Regions from separate parts of the Homo sapiens genome. Here regions 1, 2 and 4 are each linked to region 3. Evidence: promoter capture Hi-C in 16 types of primary human blood cells and fetal thymus (Javierre and others, 2016). All regions are on one chromosome and are shown on one strand. Each heading gives the region's core, a stretch centred on a gene start or on the middle of the fragment in contact. The rest is flanking DNA. Distances are from core to core; before and after follow the strand shown.

Region 1 (2,827 bases), core at 182-2,681, 270 kb after region 3:
CCCTTACTCCTAAAGCAGATTTTCTGAATTCTAAACTGGAGGCCTAGAGGTACCAGGGCCCTTCCTCCTTGGCACAATTTCCAATTTTGAAATCCAATTTTGTTTCTCTAGCAATGCAGCATTTTCCAAAATACCTCCTTAGCTTCTAAACTTCTTAAGCTTCTTTTTCTGCTTATGTTCTTATTTCTGCCTTATCCATGTGCAAATTAGGAGTCAGTAAATCCCTTGAGAGAAAACTGCAAAAAGAAAATGGAACCACCATTATTTCCCTTTTCTCCAGATTCTTGGACTCTCAAATCCTGGTTGCCTTGGTTGTTCTCCAGTGATGTTAGATAGATGTCTATTTCTTCTTGTAATCCTGTCAGTTGTTTCTTAATATATTTTGAGACTATATTGCTAGGTGCATATATATTTACAAGTTATCCCTTTTTGTTGTCCTCAATATACAATATCCTTTTGCCCCTTTTGATAGATTTTTAACTTGAATTGTTTCAGCAGATATTAAGAATGCCACACAGCTTTTTTGTCTTTGTTTTCTCATGCCTTTTTGCCTAGTGTATATGCTGTCTCCCTTTAGTTGTCAAACCTGTATCTTTGTGTTGAAAGTTTTGTAGATAGCATATTGTTAGCTTGAAAAAAAAATCCAGGCTGGGTGCAGTGGCTCACGCCTGTAATCCCAACACTTTGGGAAGCTGAAGTGGGTGGATCGCTTGAAGTCTGGCGTTCGAGACCAGCCTGAACATGGTGAAACCCTGTCTCTACTAAAAATACAAAATTAGCCAGGCGTGGTGGCACACGCCTGTAATCCCAGCTACTTGGGAGGCTGAGGCAGGAGAATCACTTCATCTCGGGAGGCGGAGGTTGTAGTAAGCCAAGATCGCGCCATTCCACTCCAACCTGGGCAACAAGAGCAAAACTCTGTCTCAAAAAAAAAAAAAAAAAAAAAAAATCCAATCTGAGATTCTTTAATTGGCAAGCTTAACATTAATTACTGTTAGGTTAGGCATTTTTGCCACCTAATCTACTTTTAAACCCTCCGTTCCTGTGTTCCTTGGATAGATCAAGTTTTCTTCTGTGGACTTAAGTTATACATTCTATCTTTCTTTTTAAGGTGGTTATCCTGAAGACCATATGGTTAGGCATTCCTACTGAACATTAAACTCATAAAACTATATTCTCTTTATAAGACAAATTGTACATTTACATCCCTTTTATCTCATCTCCTACCCACACTCCACCATCCCTTTTATAGTCTCTAGAATTTCAATTCCAGGCTCTGAAATTTTATTTTCCTAGTCCTTTTAAGACAACTTTACTAGGCTATCGGACATTACTTGCTAACCTTGAATCCTCCTGCATGTTCCTCCTCCATTTTGAATTTCTCCAAAGAGTTTTGTGACTTTTGTTTTGTTTTTTTGAGACGGAGTCTGGCTCTGTCACCCAGGCTGGAGTAGAGTGGCATGATCTCGGCTCAATGCAACCTCTGCCTCCTGGATTCAAGCGATTCTCCTGCCTCAGCTTCCCAAGTGGCTGGGACTACAGGCGTGTGCCACCATGCCCAGCTAATTTTTGTATTTTTTAGTATGGAAAGGGTTTCACTGTATGTTGGCCAAGCTGGTCTTGAACTTCTGACCTCAGATGATCTGCCTGCCTAGGCTTCCCAAAGTACTGGGATTACAGGCATGAGCCACCACATCTGGCCCCAAGAGTTTTTAAAGGAGGGTTTTATGTAAAACCTAAGGCCTTTAAACCTAAGCCCTCACAATTAGTTTGCTTGGATATGAAATTGTAGGTTGAAGTTAACTTACCTTGTTGCTGTTGTGGATCTGATCACAAGTGATAGTTTTTCTTTACAGGTGGCCTGCTCTTTTCCTCTAGAAGCTTTGAGAGTTTATCTTTGTATTTGTTTGCTTAAATCCCACTAATAATAGTGTACCCAGGCTTGGAAGTTTTGTCTTTTCTGACATTCATTATTGCTTCAAATTTTCTTGTTCTCACTTTTCCCCTCCTTTTGGGATTTCTGTTATTTGGATGTTATTTCCATCCTCTATACTCAGTTTCTAATTTTATCTTTTTTATACAGGACTGCTTTCTGAAAGCATATCTCAAGTGGATATTCCAGTTCATTCATTCGTTCTACAACAGTATCACTTCTGCAATATATCTCATTCTCTTGTCTTCTATTTCAACTATTTTCATACTCAATACTTTTTCTTTTAGTTTTACTTCTGCTTCATATTGCTATCTTCACTCTTATTTTAAAACAATTTCTTATGTTAAATTCTTAGCCCATCTTTTCCAATAATTTAGCTTCAGTTGTTCAGTCTGTGGCCTTTTTTAAATACTGTATTTACTTCTCCAGCATCTAGTTACTTTTGCTCTGAGTCCAAATTCTCCTGCAGGTGTCACCCCTCAGCAGAGAATCTCAGGCACCCAGAAGAACTACGGAACAGTTTGCTTTCCCTGTAATAAGCATTAGGTCAGAATTTCAACTTCAAATTGTAAGAAAGGAGTAGCATGGAAAGAAGAATCTGTCCCCCTAGGTTGTAATTCACGAATTCTAGGATTTGGAAGGAGCAGGGGACTTCTAGGAATGGCTAACTGAGAAACTCAGATCAACTCCCCCACTAAGGACAACTAGAAAAACTGGACACATCAAGAAATATTGATTGAAGTTCCATGTGGGCCATGACAGGATCCTTGCTCTATGTGGCATCCCTAGTATAATCTTCTCGCAGGTGCTCCAAAGTCTGAGGACCTAGACTTGCCTTTACCTTGCATCCCTTGTTGCCTGGACAGTCTGTTCTTTCATGTGTGTGAATCACAA
Region 2 (2,982 bases), core at 304-2,803, 450 kb after region 3:
TACACCCCACAGATTACTCTTTCACAGGCCAATTCCACCACCAGGAATGGAGTCCAGACTATAAAAGTAAGCTATGGGCAACTATGGAAGACTAACTGCTCATTCACTGGACTGAAGCGGTGTTTTCCTTTCTTTCTTTTCTTTCCTTTTTTTTTTTTTTTTTTTTTTTGAGGTAGGGTCTCATTCTGTCGCCCAGGCTAGAGTGCAGTGGTGAAATCTCAGCTCCACCTCCCAGGTTCAAGCGATTCTCATGCAACATCCACCTCCCAGGTTCGAGCGATTGTCATGTCTCAGCCTCCCAAGTAGCTGGAATTACAAGTGCCCACCACCACGCCTGGCTAATTTTTTGTATTTTCAGTAGACACAGGGTTTCGCTATGTTGGCCAGGCTGGTCTTGAACTCCTGGCCTCAAGTGATCCGCCCACCTCGGTCTCCCAAAGTGCTGGGATTACAGGCATGAGCCACTGTGCCTGGCCGAACCTCTGCTTTTAACCCCAATGGATTTAAGTAGCATTTACAAGAGGTAGTCTCAAACTGACACGTTTTACTCCAGGATAACCTTCCCCAGTCCCTTGAGGTTCCCCTACACTGGTGAGTAAACAAGCTGTACCATGGTGCCATAAAGAAATGGCTTTCTACCAGAGGGAACTAAAATTAGAGAGAAAAAGTTACAAGTGCTAGCAAGGATGTGGAATATTTGGACTTCTTATATACTGCTGGTGGAAGAATACGCTGGTACAACTTTTGAAAACTGGCCATATCTACTAGAGCAGAATAGATACTCTTATGAAGTGAACTGTGTCCACCTAAAATTTTTAAGTTGAAATTCTAATCCCCAATATATCAGAATGTGACTTATTTGCAGACAGGGCCTTTAAAGAAGTAACTGAGGTTAAGTGAGGTCATAAGGGTGGGCCTCAATCCAATACGACTGGTGTCCTAAAAGAAAAGGAGAATAGGACACAGCCAATACAGAGGAAAGATCCTGTGAAGATACAGGGAAGAGAAGACAGTCATTTACAAACCAAGGAGAGGCTTCAGAAGAAACTAATCCTCCCGACAGCTTGACCTCAGATTTCTAACCTTCAGAATTGAGAAAATAAATTTCTGTTTAAGCCACTCTATCTGTGATACTTGTTACGGCAGCCCTAGCAAATGAATACAGACACATACCCTAAAACTCAGTCTTTTTACTTAAATACATTATGATATATCACATAATACTACTGAGCAATGGAAACTCCAGTTACAACTGTACACAACAACACAAAGTCTCACAAACAACACTGAGTCAAAGAAACCAGATACGCAAGAATACACAGTGTATGATTCCATTTACACAAAATCCAAATCAGGCAAAATTAGTCTACAGTTCTAGAAATCAGAAGACTCACTACGCAAGCATCAGGGCATCGATGATAATGACTTAAAGGAGACTAAGAGGGCCTCTGGGTTTATAAAAATTCTCTAAGCCGTCCACTTATTTGTGCACTTTTCTGTATATATGTATGTTTACTAAAATACAGAAATGATAAATTACTTGGAAATACAGGCAACAATGTACTTATCCAGTGTTACCATGGCAAATAAACCTTACTCTGGAGCTGGATGCATCAGGTTCCTCACTCGTTACCAACAAACATTTGAAAAATACAGCTATTCCTATGATCCCCAGCTTCTCATCATTCAGTGTCTACTAGGAGAAGTATCACAGGTCACATCACCCAAGAGTATCTGGTCTCCTCCACAGTTAAATTCTCACATCATTTTTGGGGAGAGTTCAATTTCTTTTTTCTTGAGACAGGGTCTTGCTCTGCCACCCAGGCTGGAGTGCAGTGCCACGAACACAAACCACTGCAGCCTTAAACTCCTGGAATCAAGTGATCCTCCCGTCTCAGCCTCCCACCATCTGGAACCACAAGTGTACCACCACACCCACCTAATTTTTTCTTTTCTTTGTAGAGATGGAGTCTTACTTTGTTGCTGAAGGTGGTCTTGAACTCCTGGGCTCAAGCAATCCTCCTGCCTTACCCTCCCAAAGTGCTGGGATTACTCCTCCCAAAGTACTGACCACCATGCCTGGCCAAGAGTTCAATCTCATTAAAGGAAGGTATGAAAGTATACATTCAAAGGAAGAAAATAACCAGTTAACACTTTGGTCTTCCTCGGGGTAGTGAATCACAAATTTTCCTTCTTTATATTTCTGAATTTTCCTAGCTTTTTTTTTTTAACTGAATAGTTTAATAATCAGCAAAAAAGACGTATCATTTTAAATAAAAGGTAGTGGGCCAGGCGTGGTGGTTCACGCCTGTAATCCCAGCACCTTGGGAGGCCAAGGCGGGCGGATCACAGGGTCAAGGGATTGAGACCATCCTGGCCAACATGGTGAAACCCCATCTATACTAAAAATACAAAAATTAGCTGGGCATGGTGACGTGCACCTGTAGCCCCAGCTACTCAGGAGGCTGAGGCAGGAGAATTGCTTGAACCCGAGAGGCGGAGGTTGCAGTGAGCCGAGATCATGCTACTGCACTCCAGCCTGGCGACAGAGCTTGACTCTGTCTCAGAGAGAGAAAAAAAAAAAAGGTAGTGGAAGAAAGAGACACTTTTTTTTTTTTTTGAGATGGAATCTTGCTCTGTCGCCAGGCTGGAGTGCAATGGCACGATCCCGGCTCACTGCAAGCTCCGCCTCCCCAGTTCAAGCGATTCTACTACCTCAGCCTCCTGAATAGCTGGGACTACAGTGCATGCCACTATGCCCAGCTAATTTTTATATTTTTAGTATAGACGGGGTTTCACCACGTTGGCCAGGATGGTCTCTATCTCTTGACCCTGTGATCCACCCTCCTCGGCCTCCCAAAGTGCTGGGATTACAGGTGTGAGCCATCGCCCCCGGCCGAAAGATACACTTTTACAAGGGGTGAAATGTCGTGGTCTTTAGGGCACTAGCATATAATGGAAAGGCAGGATGGTACATCAGAA
Region 3 (2,700 bases), core at 30-2,529:
CAGTGAGCTGAGATCGTGCCATTGCACTCCAGCCTGGGCAACGGAGTGAGACTCCGTTCTCAAAAAAAAAAAAAAGTTTAAAATATCATTGGTCTTTAAAGTTATACATTCATTCTTTGATAATTGCTATGTTGAACGCAACCTCCTAACTGCTTTACAATGATTAAGCACTAATGATTTGAACCCAGGTTTAAAGTCTGACTCTCAACACATGTGCTCTGCCTTCTCACGAACATGATTTCAAAAATCATAGCCCCGGGATTTGGGATTGGTGGCTTATGCCTGTAAACCCAGCGACAGAGCAAGACCCTACTCTTAAAAAAAAAAAAAATTAAAGAAAAAAAGAAAAATAAATCATAGTGTTGAACTGGCAGGTTTCACTGAGACGAAACTTGGGACTCTTCCTTTTTTTTTGTTTCGAATAAAGCCATTCTAGAATGAGACAAAATTCTAAAATATTTTATAGTTAACAGTTTAAATTGGGTTTAATCTTGACAAGACTATCTAGGGCTATATACACAAATCTCTTTTGGAGAAAATACCACAACTAAACTGAAGTCTATTCCTGAATATGACAGACCAGGTCAAATGGTTATCCTTGCCCTCCCGGGGGATGTCACTCATAAACGTGCCAAAAGTCACAGTCTAGGCCCCATTACCTTACATGCTCATGACCTTCCCAGGGAGGCCCCTCGCCCTTACCAGGCACTTTCATCTTGGGAAGACACATCAGTCCTGGCGGAGAAAGCAGCAAGGCCTTTCCCCGGCTCACAAAAATTAATACAAATCTCAGAGGCTGCATCCCACAGCCGTGACCACCGTGACTTGGCATCCCCTTTTCTGCAAACTTAAATGTTATCTAGAAATCGGGCCTGGCTCTGAAAGCCAAGGGCCTGGCAGGAGCCCGAGAAAGGGGAGAAACTTTCTGCGGCCCCAAGCTAATGGCAGTCACTGCACCGAGACCCGTCCCCTGGCATCCCTTTGCTCCAGCTGGCCAAGACAGACCACCAAGGTCAGCCAGATTTCCACCCAGTCTGGCCGGGCCCGGACCCAGCTGGGAATGAACCGAGAAGCACCGGGACCCGGATCCCGGCGTGAAAGGCCGCGCGCGGGGCACGGCGGGAAAAGACGCTGCGCGCAGAAACACCCGCCCCGCGCCGCGCTCTAGTGGGCGGCCCTGCCGCGGGCGGCTCTGATTGGACTGCCGAACCCCGCGCGCTGATTGGCCGCGTGGGCGAGGCGGAGGAGAGCCGTGCGCAGCGGCGTATGTGGGGCCGTGTGCAGACCCGCGTGTGGCGCAGGCAAGGACCCTCAAAATAAACAGCCTCTACCTTGCGAGCCGTCTTCCCCAGGCCTGCGTCCGAGTCTCCGCCGCTGCGGGCCCGCTCCGACGCGGAAGGTGAGGGCTGGGGGAGGGGCCCGGCGCTGACGGAGCCGCAGTGCGGGTCGGGTCTGTGGCGGACAGAGAGGGTAGGGAGCGGCGAGGTGGCGATGGCGGCCGCACTTTGGCCTGCGCCTCTGCTGCGTCAGGCGGGAAGCTCGGCTGCTGCCGCCGCCTCGGACCCGGGTTTCTGGCGCACCGCTGTCGGACGACACTTCTGTCCTTTCTTCGTCCTGGAAAGCTGGGTCGCCGAGCATGCGGGTCTTTCGGCGCCACGGCCGCACCCCAGGCCGCAGGCTTAGGGCAGAGGAGGCCCGCCCGTGCGCCCTTGGGGCCGAGGCCCTGACGCTTCGAGGGTCGCGGAATGAGGGACCGAGGGTGGATTTGGCGGGAACTCACTGGAAGGAGTCCGTGTGGTGGGGAAAGGCTCCCGGCTGCGGATGAAGGGGGGATGGGGTGGGTATAGTCGTGCAGGCCATGTGCTGGGGTCGTGCGCCTGGCGGGCCATGTGCCAAGGGTTTTGGGGGCCTTAGAAAAGGGTTCTTAGGCCGGGCGCGGTGGCTCACGCCTGTAATCCCAGCACTTTGAGAGTCCCAGGCGGGCGGATCACGAGGTCAGGAGTTCGAGACCAGCCTGACCAATATGGTGAAAGTTGGTCTGTACTAAAAATAAAAAATTAGCCGGGCATGGTGGCGGGCGCATGTAGTCCCAGCAGCTCGGGAGGCTGGACAGGAGAATCGCGTGAACCCCGGAGGCCGAGGTTGTGGTGAGCCGAGATCGCGCCACTACACTCCAGCATGGGCAACAGAGAGAGACTCCGTCTTAAAAAAACAAACAAACAAACAAACAAACAACAACAAAGGGTTCCTGAAGAAGCCTTTGTGTTTGGAGTGGCGAGACTGCTGGAAGACTTGGGAGCTTTTAGAGTTTATACTCCCTATCCTTGATAGTTTTCCGATTCTTGAATTTTTATCGTCATTTAAATACTAAGTTGCTTGTGTTACATTACCATTCCAAAAGGGGCTGATGGGGCTCACATTCCAAGAGTTAACACTATTTAAGTTGCTGGGATCCTTTAAAAGCGCCATTACCAGAAAAAACACGAATTTGTCAAACCTCCAAAACCACAGCAGCGGGCGGTAGTCTGCATCATTTCTTGGATTAATGAAACAGATGTAATTACAAACGAGACACGAAATTCAACTAGCTCCCCTCCATCTAGATTTTTCCATATCGTGAGAACCTGTTTTAGAATGGCATAATGGTCCACATTTGGGTTTAGGTGTTGATTTTATTATGGGTAAGGCTTGTGCTTGTTC
Region 4 (2,835 bases), core at 196-2,695, 390 kb after region 3:
TTTTTTCAGCTCCATTTAATCTACAGTTTAACTGTTCCTTTAGCTTATTTCAATACTATGTTTTCACTTCTTGAAGTTCTAAGTTTTCCATATCCTCATTTTTTTATAGTATCCCTTTCCATTATGGTTTCTATTTCTTTTTAGAACATCTCTAGTCATTGTGAACATCTCTTGTGGTACATTATTTCCTCATGTGGTTATGAACTCATCTTCTCTCCTGCGGTACTAAATGTCCCTACAGAGTGGTCTTACCCTTGTTTTTGCCAGGAATGACAGGGATTTATGTTAAATCCTTTGAGACAAAGATTTCTGTACATGTGGAGAGTGGGACTGAGAATCTCCAACAACTGCAGACACAAGCTTTGCCAATTTCTTGGGCCAAGGTTTTCCAGTTCTACTCTCAAGCTTGACTTGCTTAAACTGTAGTTACATTTTGAAGATCTCTAGGTGTATGTGTGTAGGTGAGGTGAGGATGAGAGATTCATACCAGCTCTGTCCTAGAAGTGTGAGTCAATTAAGAGTCCTGATCCTCTAGGAGCATGCCATGGCTCGAGGTCAACACGTGCACAAATTTCTACCTTTAACCTACATCATTCACACATTTCAGCAAGCCCCCACTATTTGCCAGGTACTTTCTAGGACTATAATGGGATTAGAATTGTATTTGCCTCTAGAAGCACATAGGAAAGAACAACTGCCATGGAGATAGAAGTTTCCAAAGATCTGAGCTAAAAGTTGGAGACTTCAGGTGGGTATACAGGCCCTGCTGGAAGCAGAGACATATCCACCAACACAAGTCTGTAAGAGCAGCACATGATTCGGAATGACTGGAACGAGACAAAAAAAAAAAAAGTGAGTAACAGCTATTTCCACCATCTTTTCTTGCCTCCGTAATGCATGAACGTCTTGGCTGATGCTCTCAAGGGCAAACACCAGGTTCTTATTAGGCTGTGCTCCCAAGTCATGGTCTGGTTCTAAGTGTGAAGATGAAACATGATCACATTGAAAATTTGAAATCACTGGTCATCACAGAGCTGGGAAAATTACTGTAAACCTCACAGGCAGGTTAAAACTGCCCCTGGAATGATTGGCCCCAGATGTGATGTGCAACTCAAAGATCTAGAAAAATGACAGGATAATCTACTCCTATCCCAATAGTTTGGTTTCAAAGTGAGGTTGTACTGACAACCTCAGCTGGCATCATGGACCATGAAGAAAGAGATGAAAATACAGGAGGGAAAATCCTGGGATTCTTTTTTTTTTTTTTTTTTTTTTTTAAATTTAGAGACAGGGTCTCACTCCATCACCCAGGCTGGAGTATAATGGAGCAGTCACAGCTCACTGCAGGCTCAAACTCCTGGGCTCAAGGTATCCATCCTTCAGGGGTTTCTTTTCTAGGGATGTTAATACATGTATACAAACAAAATGACTCAATGGGGGAAAAAAAGGGAATAATAGTTTATAGCCAGAATGTGAAGGCTTTTCAACAAGTCATATGAAAGAATCTGTATCTTATCCTAACTGTTGAAAGGGAACCCTTGAAAGATTAATAAGCTGATACATAAAAAAAAGATTGGCTCAATAGACACACAACTCTTGAAGTTACGTATGAAATAGGAAGTCAGAAAAATAAAGTTTATGTCTCACTACTGAGGTGAGACAAAGATGTTTACCTAAAGCACTGGGCAAGGATGTCAAGAGAGGCACAAGACAGAGACCTGCAGGTTGCCAAATTTAGCAAACAACAAAACCAAAAACAACAAAAAACAAGAAAGGATAAATCTGAGTTTTTTTTTAAGAAGAATTTTTTAGTGTGTCTTAGCAAGTCGTATCTGAGATACACTAGAAGTATACTAAAAAAGTATTCACTATTGATCTGAAATTCAAATTTAACTGAGTATCAGCCAATTATCTACAAATAAGATAATAAGATTTGAAGAACAGGGAAGGAAAATGTCTATGCATGAGGAAAGATTAAGACTAAATGAACTATCAAGGCCTGGTCAGCACAGCCAAGACATGTGCTTACCTGCATTGTGACTAGCCTGTCATCCACCATCACCTCCTTGGTCAGAAAGTCAGCTCCTATTGTGGCTTTGTACTGATTGCTGAATTTCTTATTCACATACTGGTTCATGAGTGATGTCTTCCCGACTCTGAAATTGGAGAAAAACCATAAGTATAAGTCAAATAGGAGGGTCCTGAAACTGACACGAATTACTTGAAGCATTTAAAAGAATCTGCCTGACCTGAAGGACAAGAAACTGCCCTCACAGCAAAGGGCAATGCCAGTAGCCTTCCGAGCATTACACTTTTGAAGTTTTGTGTTTTCTCTCTGGGTAAAAATATAGGGTACAGATGTGGGGCAGATGTGGAAAAGCTGCTTACATGTTTTGGCACAGCCAGGTCAAATGGTAGAGCCTAGTATTATTTTTTCCATTCTAGAAGGATGCCAGCAAATATACTGCTTTCTAAAAGAAGCTTCACTATTAAGACTGTTCTGCTATTCCAACAGTATCCCTGCTATCTTAGATGTTTCTCCATTTAGTGGCTGCTATTTAGCTTGATGAAGTAACACCAGGAGGAAGACCTTGGCTTTCAGCAGACACACACCACTCAGACAATTTGCTGCTTTAAAGTTTAAAATCTGAAGCAGAAAAAGCACCAATATATCACCAAAACAAATCCACCTCAAAGAATGCTCCTCCAAATATGTTTTCTAGTAAGAAAACTCAGCAAGAGACAATGTGTGATTTTTGTGTGATAAGGTTAAGGTAACCTAAAGCTAATACAAAAACCTTCCCCCCCATAGCCAGTGATATCACCTTTCTTGGC

What was found. Contacts are between HindIII fragments. The CHiCAGO score rates a contact against its expected background, and 5 or more counts as called.
Region 1: a fragment that was not itself captured here is called in contact with the fragment with the promoter of CNBP in region 3 in 1 of 17 cell types (total CD8 T cells); the score reaches 5.6 in total CD8 T cells.
Region 2: a fragment that was not itself captured here is called in contact with the fragment with the promoter of CNBP in region 3 in 1 of 17 cell types (naive CD8 T cells); the score reaches 5.5 in naive CD8 T cells.
Region 4: a fragment that was not itself captured here is called in contact with the fragment with the promoter of CNBP in region 3 in 2 of 17 cell types (fetal thymus and naive CD4 T cells); the score reaches 5.9 in fetal thymus.

Annotation. Positions count from the first base shown.
Region 1 is chr3:128,917,063-128,919,889 of GRCh38, reverse strand. All of the region lies in intron 12 of CFAP92 (cilia and flagella associated protein 92 (putative)), which reads left to right. Among named protein-coding and RNA genes, the nearest start is that of ACAD9, 39 kb to the right of the region's middle. The HindIII fragment of the contact is 904 bases long and covers 980-1,883 here.
Region 2 is chr3:128,731,642-128,734,623 of GRCh38, reverse strand. All of the region lies in intron 1 of RAB7A (RAB7A, member RAS oncogene family), which reads right to left. Among named protein-coding and RNA genes, the nearest start is that of RAB7A, 7.0 kb to the right of the region's middle. The HindIII fragment of the contact is 3,728 bases long and covers 1-2,982 here.
Region 3 is chr3:129,182,475-129,185,174 of GRCh38, reverse strand. It overlaps CNBP (CCHC-type zinc finger nucleic acid binding protein), which reads left to right and starts at 1,279. Exons shown (of 5, transcript NM_003418.5): 1 at 1,279-1,399. It overlaps LOC105374101 (a long non-coding RNA gene), which reads right to left and starts at 1,101. Exons shown (of 2, transcript XR_924469.3): 1 at 703-1,101. RefSeq lists an enhancer at 856-945. The HindIII fragment of the contact is 13,108 bases long and covers 1-2,700 here.
Region 4 is chr3:128,797,264-128,800,098 of GRCh38, reverse strand. It overlaps RAB7A (RAB7A, member RAS oncogene family), which reads right to left. Exons shown (of 6, transcript NM_004637.6): 3 at 2,030-2,156. It also overlaps the pseudogene RPS15AP16. Among named protein-coding and RNA genes, the nearest start is that of MIR12124, 48 kb to the left of the region's middle. The HindIII fragment of the contact is 2,076 bases long and covers 408-2,483 here.